Regions from separate parts of the Homo sapiens genome. Here regions 2, 3 and 4 are each linked to region 1. Evidence: promoter capture Hi-C in human tissues and cell types (Jung and others, 2019). All regions are on one chromosome and are shown on one strand. The core of a region is centred on a gene start or on the middle of the fragment in contact, and the rest is flanking DNA. Distances in the headings are between cores, read along the strand shown.

The links. Contacts are between HindIII fragments. The study calls those that stand out against the background at their distance.
Region 2: a fragment that was not itself captured here is called in contact with the fragment with the promoter of DUSP18 in region 1 in 1 of the 25 tissues and cell types used here (H1 embryonic stem cells).
Region 3: a fragment that was not itself captured here is called in contact with the fragment with the promoter of DUSP18 in region 1 in 2 of the 25 tissues and cell types used here (dorsolateral prefrontal cortex and mesenchymal stem cells).
Region 4: a fragment that was not itself captured here is called in contact with the fragment with the promoter of DUSP18 in region 1 in 1 of the 25 tissues and cell types used here (dorsolateral prefrontal cortex).

Annotation. Positions count from the first base shown.
Region 1 is chr22:30,663,997-30,670,714 of GRCh38, reverse strand. DUSP18 (dual specificity phosphatase 18) reads left to right here and starts at 2,840. Exons shown (of 2, transcript NM_152511.5): 1 at 2,840-3,253; 2 at 6,635-6,718. The coding sequence starts at 6,712. It also overlaps a transcript of SLC35E4 not described here. RefSeq lists an enhancer at 2,353-2,742. The HindIII fragment of the contact is 10,031 bases long and covers 1-6,718 here.
Region 2 is chr22:31,115,017-31,120,383 of GRCh38, reverse strand. It overlaps LOC105372995 (a long non-coding RNA gene), which reads left to right and starts at 82. Exons shown (of 3, transcript XR_938163.3): 1 at 82-501. The HindIII fragment of the contact is 5,360 bases long and covers 1,087-5,367 here.
Region 3 is chr22:30,950,517-30,957,234 of GRCh38, reverse strand. MORC2 (MORC family CW-type zinc finger 2) reads left to right here. Exons shown (of 26, transcript NM_001303256.3): 3 at 438-472. Among named protein-coding and RNA genes, the nearest start is that of MORC2, 15 kb to the left of the region's middle. The HindIII fragment of the contact is 6,988 bases long and covers 114-6,718 here.
Region 4 is chr22:30,932,817-30,936,726 of GRCh38, reverse strand. It overlaps MORC2 (MORC family CW-type zinc finger 2), which reads left to right. Exons shown (of 26, transcript NM_001303256.3): 17 at 84-216; 18 at 1,405-1,479; 19 at 1,566-1,946; 20 at 2,536-2,667; 21 at 3,207-3,261; 22 at 3,697-3,838. Among named protein-coding and RNA genes, the nearest start is that of MORC2-AS1, 12 kb to the right of the region's middle. The HindIII fragment of the contact is 4,500 bases long and covers 1-3,897 here.

The DNA of each region.
Region 1 (6,718 bases), core at 1,591-4,090:
TGATCCTTCTTAAGGATGAAATGGGAGAGAGGGGTCTTAGAGGGGAGGAGTAAAAGTTGTAGAGTAGGGTTCGAAGGATGAATTTGAGAGGTGTTTAGCTTGGGGAGCACTTGCTCTAGACCCTGTGCCTAAAGGGGATCTGGGAGGCGGGGGCTTGGGGGAGTATAGATCAGAGCAGGGAGAAATAAAAGTAAGAGTTTGGACAGATGTTAGGCTGGTTAATAGGGGAATTCCAGAAGAAGGTTTGGGGAAAATTTAGAATAGGGAGGTGTGGGGTGGACAGGGGTTTTAGGAGACTCTGAAAGGTGAGGTGAAACATGGGGTGGGGTGGGGTAGAATGGAGCTAGGTACTCCAGGTGAAAATATAACAATCTGGTCAAAATGAGGAAATGCTGAAGAGTGGATATACTTCTAAGCACTGCATTTTCACTTTTTGATAATTTGGTTACACCATGAAGTAGTCTTACAAATAAATACCTTTAAATGGTTTTGCCCATTTAAAAATAATTCTTCAGGATCAGGCACAGTGGCTGAGGCCTATAATCCCAGCACTTTGGGAGGCCAAGGTGGGCAGATCACTTGAGGTCAGGAGTTCGAGACCAGCCTGGCCAACATGGTGAAACCCCATCTCTACTAAAAATACAAAAATTAGCCGGGTGTAGTGGTGAGCACCTGTAATCCCAGCTAATCAGGAGGCTAAGGCAGGAGAATCACTGGAACCCAGGAGGCAGAGGTTGCAGTGAGCCAAGACTGTGCCACTGCACTCGGGCCTGGGCCACAGAGCTAGACTCTGTCTCAAAAAAAAAATTGTTCATATTTTCTTTCTAAAATGCGGAAACAAAATCTACAGTATGGAAGCAATTGAATAAATTTTGGTATGTCATAAAATAAAATACATGTAATTGTGTATGAAACATAGACGGGTGGTATATTAGATGGGAGAAAAAAGCAGGTTACTAAAAAGTGAACTTTTGTGATGTATCTTTTTTAAGTATAAGCATGTTGTAACATATATATATATATATATATATATATATATGAATGGATTCTGATCAAAATACACCAAAATGTTAACAGTGATTGTCCCTAGCCACTTATGCTGCTGGCCTGTCTTGTCTTCTTTTTATTTCTTCGAGACGGGGTCTCACTCTGTCCCCCAGGTTGGAGAGTAGTGGCACAATCTCAGCTCACTGCAACCTCCACATCCCAGGCTCAAGTGATCCTCCCACCTCAGCCTCCTGAGTAACTGGGACCACAGGTGAGCCACCAAGCCCGGCTAATTTTTTGTATTTTTGGTAGAGATGGGGTTTCACCCTGTTGCCCAGGCTGGTCTCGAACTCCTGAGCTCAGGTGATCCAACTGCCTCAGCGTTTCAAAGTGAAGTGGTGGGAATACAAGCGTGAGCCACCATGCCTGTCCTCATTTTTCTATAAGTGTACACTACTTTTATAATTGGGTCAAAAAAGACAACTGTAGAAGGATAAAAAATATTGAAGGACTAGTTTTTCTAATGCATTTTCAGCCTATTTGGAACTGGAGTGTTGTGAATGTTTTCATATTTACAAACTAGTATGAACAATCCAACTTCTCAATCTCTCATTTACATTTTTCTGACCTCTATGCATAGCCTAGGTGTGAGGTGATGGAAAAAGCTGGTTTAGAGATCAAGATGCTCAAACACAAAAGTCCCCCAAATCCTGAGAGTTTTTTGTTTTTTTAAAAAAATCCTTAAAACATTTAAAGACGCATAAAACTCTTCACCCACTCAGTGGTGCAAAAAATTTACCAATACTAGAAGGGGAGGAGGCTGGCAACGACTGGAAATATTCCCTTTCAAGTAATAAATAATGGTTATTTTGAACCAAATTGCTTTCCACCTCAAGTCCTCCATGGATGGGAGCCTGGAGGATGCAGTGATGGGGGTTATGGAATGGAAAGGAGCGTGGGTAATTGGGTTTGTGAGGATTGGGGCCAGGCAGAGGGAACTGGGGGCTTTTCCAGGACCACTGGGGAACACAGAGGCTGAGAAGGGGAGTGTGGGATGGGTTCGAGCTGGGGAGGACCTCGGCCTCGCCAGGCTCTAAGGAGAGTCACAGCTCACCACCTAGGGCGCTGGGACCACACGATGTCATGCCTGGGAGACTGAAGGGCTAGGACAGATTCTGAGAAAATGTGGACTGGAGATGGGGATTCCAGGTTCTCCCGGGAGTCCAGGCGAGGGAGTTCCGGCTTCAGGGAGTCCCAAGAGCTAGACTGGGAAGGGGCTGGTGCCCAGGACTATGAGAAATCCAGACTCCCCTGGGGTGTGAAAAAGGGCCGAGGTCCGGCTGAGGGAGAGCGAGTCTGAAAGAGTTCGGGCTCCCTTGCGGGTCCGAGAGTCTAACGAAGGCTCTGGGCACCCAGGCCGCACCTGAAGAGCACCAACGACTGCTCGGTCCGCGGCGCGGGAAGGAGATGTGCGGCTGAACCCCTACGCCGATTACTTAGCGGCGGCCCTATCGAGAGGGTGGTTCGAGCCCGAGGTGGCGCCGGTCCCGTAAATCGTGGAGGATCTCAGGTCCCCTGTGACCAAGGGCGTAGTCAGCTGTGTCATGGCGGCTTCCCTGTTCGAGAAACAGTTGGAAACTGGAGGCCGGTTGGGAGTCATGGTCGTTGGGCGCACGGAGGCCGGTTGGAAGCCATGGTCGTTGGGCGCCAGGAGGCCGGTTGAGAGCCGTGCTCGTTGGACGCGCGCAGACCTGGAGTTAGTCCCTGGGCGGAACCTGGAGCCCCGCGCGGCGCGTTGCCTGGGAGACGCATAAGGGGGCGGGGCCGGGGAGGGAGTGTCGCACATGCGCACAGAGCCCGGGCGGCTACGGAAGCGGTGAGACTGTCTCTCGGCTGCAGCCCTGGTGCGACCCGGCCCGTTGCCGTAGAGATGGGCAGGGCTGGATGGAGTGGGGTGCGGTGAGCTGAGCTGACCCTGCTTCGCCACGGGGACTGCAGTGACCCCGGCTTGCCGGCAGGGCGGGTAACAGGTTGAGCCAGGGTGGGGCTGCTCAGGGGCGTGGAGCCGAGGCCAGGATTTCTCTGAAGACCCGGCACAGGCTATTCCTTTCTGCGACGAGCCCATTGCTATGGAAACCAAAGCGTTAGGCCAGCGGGGATTGAGGCTGCGGGATCATGACGGGTCTCTCTCCCGAAGAACCTTGCCTAAGGCTTCCCCAAGCGGCTACTTCCTGAGCGAACCCGCCCACCCGCCTGAAGGAGAGAGGTAAAACCCTGGGGGTCCTGACACTAAGCAGGCGAAGAAGCCTATTCCAATGCCAGCTCCCCTAGGAAACCTACCCGGCCCACCCCTAGAAGTGATGCTTCGCTCTCGTTAACTCTTGGACTTTGTTCCATGTTTATAACTTAGTATTTCACGAACGCCCCGCGGTGTTTGTTCATTTTTCCCACACATAATGGACCATAAAGGTCGGCTTCTTTGCTTTATGACTCGTTCTGAACAAGTCCTTTTCCGCGCTGTGTCTCACTTTCCTCTTTTGTAAAATGGAAATATTAACTCTAGACGCCGGTCTGATTAGGTTGCTTTGAAGATCGAACCAGATGAGGGAAGCCAAATACTTCATAGGCTGTAAAGTGGTGAAGCTGAACTGCTACCGAGTTGCTATTTTTTTCTCCTCCTCCCTCTCAAGCTAAACGTTCTTTAGATCTTTTGTGATTTCTTCAGGTGGTCTTTGCGACTCCCTAGGCTCCGACCTGGAAGAAATCTTTTTTACACTTCCCTTTCACAGAGCCCTGCATTTTAACTTCCCTATCAGAAGCGAGAAAAATAGTTATCATTTTGAGAGGGCTTACTCTATGCCAAGCCCTGAGAAAACTCTTTACGTGGATTATCTCGTTTAATTTCACAACATCCTTTTAAGGTAGGTACTGTTATCCTATTTTCAAGCTCTGTCTGCCTGTAATTGCCTGTTTACTATCTGTTTCTCCCACTAGTCTTTGAGCTCCCTGAGAAAAGGGGCCATGCCTGTCTTGTACATTTCAGTATCTCCAACACCTAATACAGTGCCTGATAGAGATTGCTTTTTTTTTTTTTTTTTTTTTTTTTGAGATGGAGTCTCACGCTGTCTCCCAGGCTGGAGTGCAGTGGCACGATCTTGGCTCACTGCAGCCTCCGCCTCCCGGGTTCAAGCAATTCTCCCGTCTCAGCCTCCTGAGTAGCTGGGACTACAGGCCCATGCCACCACGCCTGGCTAATTTTTGTATTTTTAGTAGAGACGGGGGTTTCACCATGTTGGTCAGGCTGGTCTTGAACTCCTGACCTCAGGTGATCTGCCCGCCTCGGCCTTCCAAAGTGCTGGGATTATAGGCTTAAGCCACCGTGCCCAGCCCTGATAGATATTTCTTAACTAGCATGAAAATGACTCCTCGCATCACTACCCTCACCTGCAAGAGCATTGTCACTTCTGCAGACTTTTAGTGGCTATAATGAACAGCACATTCCTCTATTCCCGTTACCCACTGGGCACTGGTTTGGGGGGACATCAGTTCACTTCTCTATGGATTTTCTGATGACGAGGATCCAGAACATTCCTTAGCATTTAGACTTCCATCTGGGTTCAGGAGGCTTTTTCTTTGCCCTTCATATCACCTCTGTAGCAAGCCAGCCCTCTCTGTCCTTCCGGGAATGAGCCTGATGCATTTGAGTCTGGGGCATTGGCAGGTAGGATTTGCCTATACAACCTTTGGTCTTTCTCTTTAGTAGCCTCAGAACCACCCCCATCCCCACCCAGCCCCTCCCTGGAATTCTGGAGACACGCTGCCAGAGAACTCATTCTTTCCAGAAAACCTCTCAGAAGGCAGAGTCATAGCTGTTGGGAGTCATTTCTTCATTCAACAAATATTTATCAAGCACCTACTTGTGGGGACACAGCGCTTGGCACTAGTTGGTGATAGAGTGGGAGTGAAGACAGACACCATCATATCCCTAAAGGGCTCACAGTCTCTTGGGGAGACAGACATTAATCAAATAATCAGACAGATCGGAGCAAAACTACGTCTTCAGTAAGTGTTAGGAAGGAGAGAACATAGGGCTAAGAAAGCCTGGAGCAGAGTTGGTCAAACGTGAGGGAGGGGTGTGATCTAAGGAGATTTCCCTTAAAACAGTTACCTTTAAGTTGATATCTTAAGGCTCCTCAGACTTCTGCAGTCCTCTGCTGAATGGACCAGATCAGGATCTGATGGGTTCATAAGGAAAGAGACTGAGAGATCAGCAGGGGCAAAGGCCACTGGCTGGAGAGGACAGGTTGTCCCTAAGGAACTGTAAGTGGCTCGGTTCACCTGAGGCCCTTCAGAGCATGGAGAAGCCTAATAAGAGGCTGGAGAGACAGGCAGGAGCCAGGTCACAAATGGCCTTGACAGCCAAACTAAGTGGCTCCATCTTATCCTCACAGTGGATAGCCACTGAAATATATTAAGCAGGGAAACAAAACTTTGGCTCCTCATTTCTCGTGCCTGGTGAAGACTGCCACTTGGCCTTGAAAGGTGTGATCTAAATCCAAATGTCCCTATTTCAGCGGAATGTATAAAGATGTCCTGGTTTTTGCAGCTTTGTTTAAGACTGAGAAAGTGAGGGTCCGAGAGTCTAATGAATGCTCTGGGCACCCAGGCCGCACCTGAGGAGCACCGACGACTGCACGGTCTGCGGCGCGGGAAGCAGATCTGCGGCTGAACCTCTACCCCAATTACTTAGCGGCGACTGAGCCTATCGAGCAGGTGAAGGGAAGGGGTCTGCCTCTCCCTGGGGTGTGTTTCACAGCTCTGCTGCAGGCAGCATGATGCAGGTGTGGCAGGTCTTCCTAAGGCCCTGCTGTCTCTGTGCTTGTCCCTGGGGTTGCTGTGGTGCCCATTATGCTGGCTTCCAGGAAGCTTTCAGCCACTCCCTTTCCCAGGCCTTCTTCAGAGGCAAGGTGCAGGAGCATGTCTAACAATTTAGGACTTTGTATTTGACATCAGCTTCGCATGGGCATATCCTGTCTCTTTAAAGAGATGGTTCTTAGAGGGGGAAAATGGGAACCCTCCCTACTCTTATACCAGCCTCCTCAGTGACTGCCAGCACAGTGGGCTCTGGTTCCATGCCACTGGCTCAGGACCTTATGATTTGGGCATAAAGTCAGAAGACTGAGGAGGAAGACTGTACAAATGGTTCCCACTCAGAGGGGCTGGAAGGAAGGAGAGAATTTGGAAGAGCAGCAAGAAAAGGGCTCTGTGAGCTTAAATGGAGAATCAGGCCAAGGCACAGCTGAGGGACACAAGTCATCTGCCCAACTAGAGCTGTGGGACCCCTCAAGGGAGGCCTCAAGTGCCAGACTTGGGGACTTGCCATTTGTCCTATAGGGCAGTGCACATTAGACCACCTGAGAAGCATGCTGAAAATGCAGATTCATGCTCTTCACCCCGAGAGTCTGACTGTGGGTTTGGAGAGGGACCTGGGTATCTGTACTTTAAATGAGTTTGCTGGGTAGTTCTGCTGTGATGGTCAGAGGACTGCCTTGGGGAATGCTATAAGCCTATCCATCCATTTCCCAGGGATCCCCTGGAATTGGCCCTCTGGGCACCTGCCCTCTAAACATCCTCTCCCTCTCTGCAGTTTTCCATGGACACAGCCTAGCAGAAAGACGCAGCCTTCGTGCTTCGCTGACTGCTGACCACTGACCCACCGCCTTGATGACAG
Region 2 (5,367 bases), core at 2,517-5,016, 450 kb before region 1:
GAGGTTGATAACAGGCTCTGGGGCTCAGGGCGGCAGGCTGGGGGCAGCTGTCAGGGAGAACCGCCCCCCTGGAGACGGCTGTCTCTGGAGGCCCTTTCTGGCTCCCTCCTTGCCCTCACTCTTGGTGGGGGAGGGGGGTGGGCGTACTGAGGCAGGGTCCAGGGCTCATCCAGCCCACTCCTGGAAACTCAGTGCTGTCCTTCAGGCTGTGTGGGTCAGGGATAGGAAGGCAGGATGCCAGTGATAGATGGAGTATCCCAGTTACTCTCCATAGTAACCCTGTGAGGTTGGTAATGAGGCCCCCATTGGACAGAGGAAGAAACCGAGGCCCAGGGATTACACAGCCAGTAGAGAGAGGACAGAGCATGGAGCTCCTGGAGAGGCAGTGGATAATTCTTCCCGACAGAGGAGCTGACTGTTGAACCCCTTCTTTGAAGGAGAGTCCGTGCTGCCAAATCGAAGAAGAGAAACGCCCTGGCTGGAAAGCAGAGAGAACAGCAGGTACAAAGCATGGATGGGGAAGGAAGGTTCTGGCTGTGAAAGGATGAGAAATTTGGACATGTACCCTCCTGCCCTTTGGTTCGGAGTAAACATGAGCAGGGAAGGGAGAGAAGTCTTTCCTGTCTTTTTCCTCCTCCTCTTCCTCGGTTCACTTTCCAGGGGCACCTGAGGATGGCAACGGTACCGAGGGTCTGTCCTCCTTCCTTTCTCTCCCTGGTCACCCTGACCCAGGCCCGCCATGAGGGAGGTCATGCTATGGCTACCATCTGCAAAGGTGTAGAGGGTGATACAGGATATTGTGGGAATGTGAAAGAAGGGGTTATCTGGGAGGGCTTCCCTGAGGAGGAAGTATACAGGGCACAAAAGAGCATTTCTTCTCCCAAGGCTTCACTCCAGGGTTTCTTGTTGGTAACAAGCTTCACATGTTATGTCCCCAGCACTTCATTCTCACCCTCTGAGGCAGATGTCATCCTCACTCCCCATTCTGCCACTCAGGAAATGGGCTGGAGGAGGAGGAGTGACTTTCCCAAGGTCACACAGCTGGGGCTGAGCTCAGGCCTCTCTCCTCCTTCTCTTCGGCTCCCCCTCCTCCTAGGCAGCCCAGCACCCGCTGTCAGCTGCTCTGAAGTGAGTGGCTATTTTTATTCTGGTGCGAGGGGATCTCAAGCAGCAGAGCCATGTAGGTTAGAGGCTCTAGGACACCCGGCCTCAGCAGTCCAGGGGAAACTTCCTGCAGCCACCAGACCCTGCTAAGCTTGCCTGGGGGCTCTCATTTCTTGCAGACTGACTTGCTCTGGGCTCCTATGCCTCCAGAAGCTTCTTTATTGGAGCTCAGAACAGAGCATAGAGCCAGATTAAGCCCTGGTCATGGTCCTGATCCTCCAACTTGAACCCGACTCTTGGTATTGACTAAGCCTCTACTCCAGCTCTTGACTGAGCTCTGACATCACCTTAGAATGAACCCTGACTCTAGTCACATACTGATCTAAGCCTGAATTAGGCTGATCCCAACTTGAGACCTTAGTTCTGGGCCCAGATCAAGCCCTTATCCTTCTCTAAGACTGAGCCTTAGTCACAGACTGAATTCTAGCCCCAGCCCAGACTAACCTTTTAGACTGACTCTGGCAGAAGAGTCAGACTAACCTTTTAACCCTGACTCTGGCAGAAGACTGAGCCCTAATCTTGGTCAAAGACTGAGTCCTGAGCCTAATCATTGACTGAACTCTGACCACAGACTGAATTCTGACCCTGGATCATGCAATTCTGGTCACACACTGAGCCCTAAACGGAAGACTGTGCCCTGAATCTGGTCACAGACTGAGCCCTGAACTTAGTCATTGACAGAGACATGACCCTGGTCACAGACTGAGCCTGGCTCCTGGTCACAGACTAAAGACTAAGCCCAATCATGGACTGAGCCCTGTATCTAGCCCTAGGCTACAGACTACTCAACTAAGGGCTGACCTAGACCCTGTCTGAGCCTGACCCCATCACAGACTAATCCCCAACCTTGGCCCCACTTGAGGAAGACTGCTGGCCTAAATTACATGCTGCCACATAAGAGGCATGGATTATGGGCAGAGATCTGTCTTGGGAGATCTTGGGCTTCTCATGCTGCTGATGCCACAGTGTTCCTTCCTGGTACTGTTATGGTCACAGTCTCCACCACTGGTTCCACTGGCTGGTTGGTCAACCCTCAGCAGCCCAAGCTGTGGCCTTTAGGGGCCACAGCATCCAGGCTAATGCAATGAGAGTGGTTTGGTGGCATCTGTCCAGCAAACAACCAGGGCCCATGGGGTACTGGGGTTTGGCTCTGTCAGCAGCAAGAACGACTCCGTGGGGCCTCTGGCTTCAGTTACTCTGAGGCCCTTGCTGGGGTAGGGGTTGGAGTAGAAGGAAATAGTGGGGTATGTCCCATTATTTTCGTAAATAAAGTTTACTGTTTGTGTTTAGGTAATCCATGCCCATTACACAAAACACAGAAGGAAAACATTTACCTATAATTTCATCCACCAAGAAATAATCGTTCTGACTTATTGGTTTGTTTCCTTATAGATATTTTTTGGTGGGGGCGGGGGTCTAGGCATATATATTTATATATACATGTTGTATATAATATGCATATATATTTATATACATGTTGTATATAATATGCATATATATTTATATACATGTATATTTACATATACGTGTTATATATTTTATATAGCTATATCTATTTTTTGAGATGGAGTCTCACTCTGTCGTCCAGGCTGGAGTGCAGTGGCATGATCTCAGCTCACTGAAACCTCCACCTCTGGTCCAAGCAATTCTCCTGCCTCAGCCTCCCGAGTAGCTGGGATTACAGACATGCACCACCATGCCCAGCTAATTTTGTATTTTTAGTAGAGACAGGGTTTTGCCTTGTTGACCAGGCTGGTCTTGAACTCCTGGACTCAAGTGATCCACATGCCTTGGCCTCCCAAGTGCTGGGATTACAGGCGTGAGCCACCAAGACTGGGCCTATACATGTTTTATAGAATTGGTTGGTTACTGTGTTGCTGCCACAATGTCCAGCAACACAGTAGGGTTAGGGTTAGGGTTAGGATCCTGTTAAGGTTGCAGCCCATCTCCTTCTTAACAGGAACTGGAATATGGTGGACCCCACCCTCAGCTTCAGGAATGGGTCCCAGTTGGTTAAGCCAGTAAGCAATTCCCATTTCCCCAGGCACATGATTAGATCACGAATGAACTAGCAAGATACAAGGAAATTTTTGCTCAGGGCTTTTGGGAAAGGAAGCTTATTTTCTCTCCTGAGGAGGCTGCCAAAAAAGATGATCTTCCTTCCATTAGATGTAAATGAAGAGGCCAATGGCTCTAGTTACTGCTGGCAGCCATCTTTACACCATGTAGAAAATTGGCCTACTGATAAACTGACATTATGGAAAGCAGAATGGAGAGACACCAGGCTTTGGTGACTTCATTAACTGGATCAAACTTCACCTGAAGCCCCACCTGCCATTGGACTTTTTTTTTCTTCTTTTTGAAATGGAGTCTCAATCTGTCGCCCAGGCTGGAGTACAGTGGCACGATCTTGGCTCACTGCAACCTCCGCCACCCAGGTTCAAGCGATTCTCCTGCCTCAGCCTCCCGAGTAGCTGGAGTTACAGGTGCCCACCGCTGCGTTTGGCTAATTTTTGTATTTTTAGTAGAGACGGGGTTTCGCCATGTTGGCCAGGCTGGTTTCAAACTCCTGACCTTAGGTGATCTGCCCGCCTCAGCCTCCCAAATTGCTGGGATTACAGGCGTCAGCCACTGTGCCTGTCCTGGACTTTTAAAATTATTTGAGCCAACAGAGTCCCTTTATTTATTTATTTATTTAGAGACTGAGTGTCGCTCTGGCACCCAGGCTGGAGTGCAGTGGCGCAATCTTGGCTCACTGAAACTTCCACCTCCCGGGCTCAAGCAATTCTCTTCCTCAGCCTCCTAAGTAGTTGGGATTACAGGTGTGCACCATCATGCCCAGCTAGTTTTTGTGTTTTTAGTAGAGAGGGGGTTTCACCATGATGGCCAGGCTGGTCTCCATCTCCTGACCTCAAGTGATCTGCCTATCTCGGCCTCCCAAAGTGCTGGGATTACAGGCATGAGCCACTGGGCCCAGCCCCTTTATTTTTATTATTTTTTGACACAGGGTCTTACTCACATTGCCCAGGCTAGAGTGCAGTGGTACGATCTTGGCTCACTGTATTATTTTTTATTTTTTATAGGAGATGGGGTCTCACTCTGTCTCCCAGGTTAGAGTGCAGTGGCATGATCATAGCTCACTGTAGTCTTGAACTCCTGGGCTCAAGCAGTCCTCCCACCTCAGCCTCTGGGGTAGCTGGGACTACAGGCACTGCCATGCCTGGCTAGATTTTAAATATCTTTTTTTAGAGATGGGTTCTCACTATGTTGTCCAGGATAGTTTGGAACTCTTGGCCTCAAGTTATCCTCCTGCCTCAGCCTCCTGAGTAGCTGGGTTTATAGACACAAGCCACCACAACCAGCTCCCTTTATTGTTTAAGCCAGTTTAAATTGGGGTTTCTATGACTTGCAGCCCACAGCATCACAACTCCCAATTGATATTACCAGATTACTGTTTTTGTTGCTTTTTTCTTGCTATTTAATACCATAACCACGAACATTCTCCATGTCATTCCATCTATGCTGCATCTTTTTTTTTTTTTTTGAGATAGAGTCTCACTCGCCCAGGCTGGAGTGCAGTGGTGCGATCTCAGCTCACTGCAACCTCTGCCTCCTGGGTTCAGGCAATTCTCTTGCCTTAGCCTCCCAAGTAGCTGAGATTACAGGCAGCCATCACCATGCCCAGCTAATTTTTATATTTTTAGTAGAGATGGGGCTTCACCATATTGGCCAGGCTGCTCTCAAACTCCTGACCTCAGGTGATCCGCCCACCTCGGCCTCCCAAAGTGCCGGGATTACAGGCGTGAGCCACCCACGCCCAGCCTGCTGCATCATTTTTAACAATTGCATGGTTTTCCATCCTATGGAGGTACACTCATTAATTTAACTCATCCCCTGCTGTGACATGCTTAGGTTATATCCCCAGTTCTTCACCACGATAAATGGTATTCTAATAAACAAGCTTGACCTAACAATCCTCTCTCTGATGATTACTTTGGGGCTAATTCTGAAAAATGGAATTACTGGGTCAAAAAAAGTTTTTAGAGTTTTGATTTTGCCCTTCAGAAAGCCAGGGTGAATTCATACTTCCCCAGCAGTGAACAGAGTGTTAGAGATAGCTTACTGTGTGAATAGTCTGGACAAGACTAATCATATTGACTACATACTCATATTATATATATATATATATATATATATATATAT
Region 3 (6,718 bases), core at 2,358-4,857, 290 kb before region 1:
GGGAGATTATTGTCTTCCTTTTTTCTTAAAATATTGACGAGAAGAAAAAGTGGACAAGTTATTGGAACATCTTTTTATGATTGCAATCAAATGAGTGAGAAAAACATATTTGAATCATTTCTTAGGGTATAAAGGGAAATATTCTTGCTTATCCTATAGATGTTTTTACCACAAAATCAGGATTTAAAAAAAATATCCAGGCCCCATGTCATGTGATCATCTTCAATAATTTGGGGCTTCAGAAATGTTTTACAGATATATAAAGAAAATTGTGTTGTCAAGTATAAAAGTAAAAAAAATTCTAAATGTCTATAGAATTTCTGTATGGCTTCCTGAAAACAGACTCAAAATACTCTGCATTCTACTCAAATCACTATGCATTTTGATGGTTGATATTTCATATTAATTCACATGATTCTTTTCTTTTCACTTTGCAGAGATGCTGATGCCACCAGAATAGATATTTATGCAGGTAAGTCAGGCTTTAGTCCTTCTAATGTCTAGTTCATCTTAATGCATTTATTACTGTGCCTAAGAAGAATTGAGTGGGAAATAACTGGATTCGGGAGCCTGGGAAGATGGCATGATTATTCCAGGTCATAGGTAGAAAAGGGGCAGCCGTAGTCAGGTATGGTCAGCTCTGGTCAGGCATAGAAACCAAGAATATTGGTTTCAAGAAACTAACACAAGGTATCCAAATCTATGTAAATAGCTACTAGTAGAGTTATGGAAGTGATGGAGTGGAACAGTAGAGAGTGAAATGACCAAGTTATTTTACTGGTAGGCGTTAATAGGTGAACGAGGTTTGTGGTACCTGCAGCCAAGGAGAGATCTTGTTGGAGGCCACTTTGTTTTGAACTCTTGGTGAGCACTAGTCTCAACTTGGAGAATTGCTGGTATCGGTTGCGGAAAATAGCAGTAACTGGATTGGCTCTGAGGTTTGCTGAGTTGTTCTCAGAGGTGTCAGGAAGGAAGGCTGCTTGGCTTGGAATTTACACCTGTCAACATCCTATTTCGTTTTGCTTATTTGGCTCTGCTGTTTTGTAGTAAGATCTTCTCCTTTTCCTAGAGTGAGTGCAACAGTCATTGGCCTTTTAATTAATTAACTCATTAATTTTAATAGTTTGCTTTCTGCCTGGTATTTGTACTAGCACCTTTTTTAGTCATTTGAATACTAAAAATTTGAAAGCAGAATGGAGGAAGACAGCTTTTTTTTTTTTTTTTTTTTGAGATGGAGTCTTACCTTGTCACCCAGGCTGGAGTGCAGTGGCACGATCTTGCCTCACTGCAACCTCCATCTCCCAGGTTCAAGCAATTCTGCCTCAGACTCCCAAGTAGCTGGGATTACAGGCGCCCACCACCACACCCGGCTAATTTTTTGTATTTTTAGTAGCGACGGGGTTTCACCACGTCGGCCAGGCTGGTCTCAAACTCATGACCTCAGGTGATCTGCCTGCCTCGGCCTCCCAAAGTGCTGGGATTACAGGCGTGAGCCACCACACCTGGCCGGAAGACAGCTTTTAAATACAATTCGACTAGTGTGATGTGTTTTTTTCTGACAGACTTTTCTGAAATCCTCTGAAATGTGTGAGGTGATATTTTGAGTAGCATGAACTAGGTTCTGAGAAGTCTGTATGTTTACATGGGAATGAAATAACCCCTCTTCATGGACCCTTTTGATGAATGGGAACAAGCACACAACTAAGTAGTAATTCTCAGAACCACTAATGTCATATAATTATGAAGAATCTGCCCCAGATTTGATGAATTTCTCATGTCTGCTATACTTTGGAGCAAAGAAAATCCTCAGAGCAGCTAAAAGTCAGCTGTACTGCTTCAATTCTGAAAGCCTTTTGTTCAAAAGGCTCTGCCAAAGTGGTAAAAATAAGGCTTCTTTTCTCTCTAGAAGAAAGTAACAGGAAATAGGGGCACACAGGAAAAGAATGTTAGAAGATGATTACTAAATGCTCAGGCCAAGGCTGGGCGTGGTGGCTCACACCTGTAATCCCAACACTTTGGGAAGCCGAGGCAGGCGGACCACCTTAGGTCGGGTGTTTGAGACCAGCCTGACCAACATGGAGAAACCCTGTCTCTACTAAAAATACAAAATTAGCCGGGTGTGGTGGTGCATGCCTCTAATCCCAGCTACTCGGGAGGCTGAAGCAGGAGAATCGCTTAAACCCAGGAGGTGGAAGTTGCCATGAGCCAAGATCGCACCATTGCACTCCAGCCTGGGCAACAAGAGCGAAGCTCCGTCTCAAAAAAAAAAAAAAAAAAAAAAATGCTCAGGCCAGATGGAGGTGCCTTTCCAAGCCAAAGCATGTATCTTACATCTGAGTGTGCTTTCTCAGGAATGGTAACAGCTACCGCTGGAAAAATAGGGCTTATTTAATCAATGCACAGATGCTAAAGCAGAGAATGGGCCTCTTCTCCAAGTGATGTTGAAGGTACAAATCGTAATGGTCAAGTCTACTTGGAAGACGTTTTTTAAAAAAGATCATCTCTGCTGTCTCCTACTACATTTGGTGGGTAAATTTCAGCAAGGAAGTTTAGTTCCTGACACTCAGAATGAAGTTGGATTTCAATTTAAATGAAAAAGGACCCAGTGTGTCTTTATTCTGTGCTCAGTACAACTCCTGTTATGCTTTGGGAAATGTCCAGAGAGGAGGAGATGGGGGTCTTTGCTTTAAGAACTTAGTCTTTAATTGGAGAGACAATTAATGCACTATGGATAATTAGAGAACAATAACTAGATCTTGAGGGAACAGTCAAGACAGTTAAGGATTAAATGGTGTGATAGAAGCACTAAGCACCATAGCATTTTGGAAAAAGACTTGATTTACTTCAAGTACCAGGAGATTGGGATTCTTGGCTAAGGGATCTTTAACCCTACACTTTTCTACCACAGGGCCTTGTTAACACATTCAACAGGAGAAATCAGTCCGTGGAATCTTTTTTTTTCACCCAGGCTGGAATGCAGTGTGCTATCTAGGCTCACTGCAACCTCCACCTCTCGGGCTCAAGTGATCCTCCTACCTCAGCCTCCCGAGCAGCTGAGACTACAGGCACACACCACCATACCTGGTTAATTTTTGTATATATATTTTTTCACCATGTTGCCCAGGCTGGTCTCAAACTCCTGAGCTCAAGTAATCTGACTGCCTTGGCCCCCCAAAGTGCTGGGCTTACAGGCTGAGCCGATGCGCTTGGCCAGTAATAATCTTAATACTATAAAGTTCTTGTTGTTAGTTCATGGGGGAAAGTATTTTCTTATCTCCACTTCTGAAACTGATTGATAACTGGACTTGGAAATCTTTCCAAACATCAGATGTAGTTTGAAGTCACCACAAAGTCACATTTAAAGACCATTTTTAAACCTAAAAAGGGCAAAAAAGGAGCCAGCCTCTCAAAGTGTAGAGGTGTTCATTTACCCAAAGCATATTATTATTAGTTGGATTATTATTATAGACCATAATATGCCTGTCATAAGCAGACTGTTTTTGTTGACTTTCTTGACCTTCTGGGGTAGGTAGTGCCACCTCCTTGGAAGAAAGATCCTTTTCGTGATGCCAGGGCAATGATTAACACATGGAAAATTGGAGCAAATGAAACTGCAATTAATACTGCTCAAACAGATTGCAGAGTATGATGAAGAACTTGGATGTCATTTTATTGCAGCCTCTCCTGGGGACACCATTATTTTATCACCTTTGACTTTTGGATGTATAGCTCCATTTGACATCTCTTGTCTTTTCCTGCTTTCTTTCTTTATTCTTCCCAGTGGGAGTTAGATGAAGAATGTCTGGCTTGCAGAAGCCAGACTTGGCCATTCTGGGAGATGTGCAGACTTTCAGATTGGCTTTGACAGTCTTACAGAGCTGTTCCCAGGATATGAAGCACAGCTGCAAAGCAGGCAGTTCGGCTTTGCCTTCTCTTACTTTCAAGATGTGTGATGGGAGGCGGGGAACATACAACCCCCAGCTGCTTAGACTCTTCTTTATCCAGAATTCCCCTTCCTTTATCTTTGGAGGCTTCAGATATCACTCAGTTGACTGATTAAATATCAGGTGATAGGAATCTATCTCTATGGTGGAATATATGAGGAGATAGTTTTGAGCAGGGACGCCTTCGAGTTCTTGCTTGCTCTAGTTTAGTGCTTCTCAAAAGGTGGTCCATCCACAGATGTTGTCAATATCATCTTGGAACTTGTTAGAAATGCGAATGCCCCACCTCAGACGTACCCAGACTATCCAGGGGGAGCCCAGAATCTATTTTCACAAGCTCTTTGGATAATTCTTACCCATACTACATTTTGCTCTAGCCAATACTTTTCTAAGCTTCCTTCAGCTTAAACCCTCCTGTCCTTTACTTCCTAGCTTATCTGCTGCAGGCAGTAGAATCCATTAGATGTAAGCTCCATGAAGACAGTGATCGCATATGTACTGTTCACTGCTCTTGTCCTCATCATAACCAGGCACAGAAGAGCTGATCACTAAGTAGTCATTAAATAAACAAGTGATTGGCATAAGCATTTGAACAAGGTGAAGAGACCACACTGTCTGTTTACAAAGTTGAAGAAGTCAATGCTGTCTTAGTCTTTCTTGGCCCTGAGGCAGTATTGCATGTGGCCATGGACCTAGACACTACTAGCCATTTATAGGCTGTCAGTTACTATGTAGCCAGGAGGATCCCCCCAGTGTCATCTCTTACCCTTTAAACTACACGAAAAAGCTTTGAAATGAAGTCCTTGAGCCAGAAAAGGATACCAGCCCCACTGTTAAGTGATGATTGTGTGCTAAAGCAGCCTAAGAGTTCTATCCTAACACAAGAGCCTAGAAAGTAACTTCTTAGGCAGTGTCCAAAGAATGCCAGTAGTCCTTGGGGACTTTTCAGAGGTGCTTGGCTTGAATCAATTTCTAGATCCCAAAGCAGAGTCTTCATGCACATTTTGCGGCTGTAGTGTACAGCAAATGGCTCTTGGCTAGGTTTAGAATGCTGCTTTTACCATTCTCTGTACCTGACCCAGTTTGAGTCTCCTTATGACACTTGGCTTCCTCCAGATGGAAATTTTGAAGCCTTTTTGGACTTTTATTGTACTTATTCTTGATTGCCACGTCTCATTTGGATTCCCCAGACTCTGATTAGAGGCACTGCCACCAGGAGAGATTTTATCTAACCAATAGTACTTCCAGGAAGATCCTCACCCTTGTACTTTCAAGAAGCACTTGTAATTAATGTTCAGCTTCCTGAACACTGAGTGGTACTTGAAAATCTCTGTGGTTTATAGCCTTACAGAAGCTACTCTGGAGGCTGAGGCAGGAGAATCGCTTGAACCTGGGAGGCAGAGGTTGCAGTGAGCCGAGATCACGCCGTTGCACTCCAGCCTGGGCGACAGAGTGAGACTCCATTTCAAAAAAAAAAAAAATAGCATTTTAATTTACATTAATAAGTCTATTTGACAGAGGGCAGTCCCTACTCACTTGAATTTTTAGCCTGAAGAAAGGACAAAGAGCATTTAAAACAGATTTCTCAGCTTAGATAGTTGTACAAAATTGGTTAACTGAAGCTTGGGGGAGATTCCGAAATCATCAGGGACCAGGCTGCAGAGCAGCCTTGGGCTTGCCCTTGTAATACCTTACACAGACCTCTTTCCTCTTAGAAATGCTACCTTTATCCCTGTGCCAGTCAGTAGACTGAATAGCATCTATATGGGAAGTTGGCTTGCTTGGCTTGTGTGGGTCTCCTCCCTATACCTCTGCCTTACATCCTTCTCTTCTTTGTGTCTACCAACTTCCTTGATTCCAAGGCTGGTTTCTCTTTTGCTCACCTAGTCCTCATCATTGGGTCAAAAGGCACCTTGGAAGCTAGTATAGCCTGTTTCCATATTTGGGAATCGCTTCTCCATTGACCATGACATGCTTGGACCCAGACCACTTTCAGTTAACCACTTTCTGCTGCAGAAGACAACTGCTGAGAGAAGACGTTCTTTTCACTAGAATGGCAGCCGTAGTTTGTTGTGTTCCTTTTCTGTTGGCCAGGAAACCCCACCACAGCTGCTGTGCATCTTATTGTCAAAGGACCATTCCTTCTTCCCATCAGGCAGGTCCAGCTAGGAACAAGGCACCTCCACGTTGTACCATGTGCCTTCTCACTGTTGGGATGGGGAGCCCTTTCAAGGACCATAGCTAGCAGGGGATATGACAGTAAATGCAGATAGCCCAGAATGCCAGTCAGCCTAGGGATGGTCATGTATAGACACAGTACTTCATCTTTTAGATAGCAGCTTCCACTGCTGTGCCCATACCATGTCTGGTTTCATCACTTTGAAGGATACCCCAGACTTAATTCACAAAGGAGGCATCCTGTTGAGTTTGAGCAGTATTGATAAAGTACAGTGTGTGGTAGTTGGAGTACTTTAGTGCTTGGGGTCTATGGCATAGGGCAGAAGTGATAGTAATCCAGGTGGAGTGAGCAGAAGGATAGGATGATTGAGATATGTGTGAGGTATGTGCATATTCAGTGGTAGTGGGTATGATTAGATGCTGGACCAGATATTCCTGCCTTCAAAGGTTCTCCCAAGCTTTGTCATGATCTAGAAAACATTGGAGAACCTTGGATGGGAATTTGCAACCTCAAGGACCCTGAAGTTTAATTCACACCAGCGTAGAAAGTTTAGGCTTGACCTGACCTTTTTGGACCAAGCTTCACATTGATCTGC
Region 4 (3,910 bases), core at 398-2,897, 270 kb before region 1:
AGTGTAGACTGGCTGAAGAGAAAGGTCCTTGCCGAGCTTGGCGCTCTGTTTGCCACGACCTCTGTAGTACCTTGTCTCTACAGGTGTGAGGCTTCTGAACAAAAGCAGAAGGTTCCCCTGGGAACATTCAGAAAGGACATGAAGACGCAGGAAGAGAAGCAGAAACAACTGACAGAGAAAATTCGCCAGCAGCAGGAGAAGCTGGAGGCCCTTCAGGTACGTGGGTCATGGTCAGTGGGCAAAGCCAGCCTGTGTCAGGGCTCTGCCTGTGACAGGAACCTTCAGTAGCTTTCCTGTTCCCTCAGGCTCAGTTTTACCCTCCACTCACCCGCGTTGTTTGCCAAAGCTTTCCAACCCCAACCTCCAGGTCCACGTGTACTATTTGCCAACAGTGTTATTTTAAGAATAACACCTTGCTTATTCTTAAGAAAAAATGCTTATATACTTCAAAGTGGTCCAATTCATTTAGAATGTATAAAACTCTAGAAAATAAAAATTCTGCCTTAGAGGTAACCATCATTAACCATACATCCTTCCAACTTGTCATGAACTCATGAATACCTACACATAACACACATATATTTTTTAATAGAAATAGGGAGATAATGCCATGTATATGTTTTATATTAATACATACACATACACATAATTGTTTTGATGACTTTCTAGAAGTGAAATTAAAGGACTTAAAAGGTCCATTGTAAAATTCTATGGCTTTTTGCAACTATTTCTAAAGTACCCTCCAGAGATGTGTTAATTTCTATTATTTACCAGCAGTATATGAGAGCATTATTTTTAAATGTTGTTGCAAATTTCATAGGCAAAGATGCATGTTTTATAATTTAATTTCCTTAATATTTCTAAGATTGCATAATTTTTCATGTGTCCACTTTTATTCCTTTTAAACTGCTTATTCACTTACATTTTTATTTTTTCTATGTTTTTTTCTAGATATGTCTGTGATATCATCTGTTTATCATATTTAGTACACAACCATTTCCCTTTTTGGCTTCTGTGTCTGTGCAGATGTGCTCTCACTAACCCATGATGTTTTATATGCCTCCCTAGCTGCTAAATCCCACCTTTCCTTTCTGGCTTCATCCAGGTTTTCCCTATCCTTCGGGCCCTTTCTACCTTTTTGGGTTCCTTTTATAGGAATTTAGTCTATTGACACTTTTTGCCAGTCTCTCAGTTGCTGGATTAATCACACAGTTTCCTGTAATTTGCTGATAGTTGAGTATTTATGTATTTTGTGTCTCCCCAATGAGAACAGGAGGTTTGTAAGAGTAGGACTATGGCTCAGGTTTTCTATTTTTTTTGTCCCTGGTTCCAGACACTATCCAAAAAGTTTGCTCAAGTATACTAAAATATGCAAACAACTTCATCATGATGTTTGCCTTGCAGAAAACCACACCCATCCGCTCCCAAGCAGACCTGAAGAAATTGCCCTTGGAAGTGACCACCAGACCTTCCACTGAGGTGAAGTCCAGGGGCCTGGGAAGGGCTTTTCCTCAGGTGTCTCATGCTAGGATCAGTGTTCTCACTCTCTGTGGGCCTTTTTTTAGGAACCTGTGCGTAGACCTCAGCGTCCTCGGTCGCCCCCTTTACCTGCTGTGATCAGGAACGCCCCCAGCAGACCCCCTTCTTTGCCAACTCCTAGACCAGCCAGCCAGCCCCGAAAGGCTCCTGTCATCAGCAGTACCCCAAAGCTCCCTGCTTTGGCAGCCCGGGAGGAGGCCAGCACATCTAGGCTGCTCCAGCCACCTGAGGCACCCCGAAAGCCTGCCAACACTCTCGTCAAGACTGCATCCCGACCTGCCCCTCTGGTGCAGCAACTGTCACCATCTTTACTGCCCAACTCCAAGAGCCCTCGGGAGGTTCCTTCTCCCAAAGTCATCAAGACTCCAGTGGTGAAGAAGACAGAGTCACCCATCAAACTCTCCCCGGTGAGACGCTTGTCCTCTTTAATACCCCAGCCCAGTGTCAGTAGTGTAGGAATGGAATTGTGCAGTGTCACAGCTGTACTGGGGGAGCCTTCGGAAGATACTGAATCTAAAGCTTTGCTGCTGCCCCTGAGGACGGGAAGCCTTGATAGCTGAACGGACTTGTTGGGGCCAGACAGCACATCGGTTGCCTGTACAGCGAGCTCTTCACTGTTGCCTCCGAGTTTTGGTCTGCCACAAACTTGAGTCACCTCCACTGGCTCTCGAAGTGTGGGCTTAGGTCAGTCATCTGGTGACAGATAGCCTGAGTGGGCTGCGGCAGTGGTCGGTGGTTCTTGGGGAGGTGACAGCTAGTTGGCCAGGTAGACTAAGGTGGGAAGGGAATTGAGAAGCTTCTCCTATGATAGCTTTGAGCAAAAATCCTTATGGCGCAGGGGCCAGTGGGTTGCCTGTGTACATTCCAAGTAATGTCAGGCAGGGATTGCAGGGAGTACAGCTCCTCTTGGAACGACTCCTTTAGGCTAGATGAAATCTTCCTGCTCCTTAGAGGCTGAACAGGGCCCCTCACATCCTCACGCTCCTCTTGCTCTAGGCTACCCCTAGTCGGAAGCGGAGTGTCGCAGTTTCTGATGAGGAAGAAGTTGAGGAGGAAGCTGAGAGGAGGAAGGAGAGGTGCAAGCGGGGCAGATTTGTTGTGAAGGAGGAAAAGAAGGACTCGAATGAGGTGAGTGGTTGAGGTGAGGTTCTCAAAGCCTCTCTCTCTAGGGCCTGCAGCCCCCACCAGCAGTCTGCACCCCCCATCAGCAGTCTATACCATCCACCAGCAGTCTACACAACCCACCAGCAGTCTACCCCCCCCACCAGCAGTCTGCACCAACTCTGTTTATATTCGTGTCATGAGCCTTCCAGAAGCCTAGTGATCTCTCAAGGACTCTCAGTTACACAAGTGACTAAACATGGTGCCAGGTAGGGTCTTGAGTGAGACTGGCTTCTGGCTTAACCACAGGCCTGAAGTCACACAGACGTACATCAGTGAGGCTTGAAACACATGTCCCTTGCCTGCTGTCTTGTTCGTAAAGGTAGCAGAAGGGTAGGTACCTTGGACAGTGATTTTGGAGTGTGGCTCTCAACGGGGCTTGGTGATTTAAACTGTAGCACAGGAAGTCGTGAAGATGATGGCTGATGACCCCGGGTGGCCAGTAAGGCACAAGTCTGCTCTTGGGGGGCACTGGGGATGCCTCTAATAGACTGCTCTCCACGCAGCTCTCAGACAGTGCTGGGGAAGAGGACTCGGCTGACCTCAAGAGAGCTCAGAAAGGTGAGCTGGGGGAGTGACTTGGCAGCCTGTGGCGGGGGTGGGAGTGGGAGTGGAAGTGGAGCCCCTTACCAGCAGCAATTTACCAAAGGCTCATTGAATCTGTCCTGGGTCTGGGCTCTTGTGCAGCAGTGGATCCAAGTCTAATCCCAAGCAGAATTCTGAAGGGATCACCCCTTTGTGGTTATTTTTAACACTAATTCCTTGGTGTTCACTCCTGGCGGTCACTTGTTCTCCTGCTTTTTGGCACCCTCATAGCAGATGGGGAAGGAGACCATGGTGGCTGGTCCCTGGTCTCTGTGTCCCTGGTGTAGTGGGGGCAAGCACCTAAGTGTTCCTGTCCTCCAAACCCTGGGGACTGCCTTTCTCGATGTGGCCCAGGCCAAGTGAGGGACTCTACGCTAGTTTTCTGACTCGCACCTCTGTCTACATTGTCAGATAAAGGGCTGCACGTGGAGGTGCGTGTGAACAGGGAGTGGTACACGGGCCGTGTCACAGCCGTGGAGGTGGGCAAGCATGTGGTGCGGTGGAAGGTGAAGTTTGACTACGTGCCCACAGACACGACACCAAGAGACCGCTGGTAATGCCCCAATCAGGGAGGAGCAGTGGTTCCTCGAAGGAGGTATCCCCGGCCTCCCTGCCAGCAGCCCAT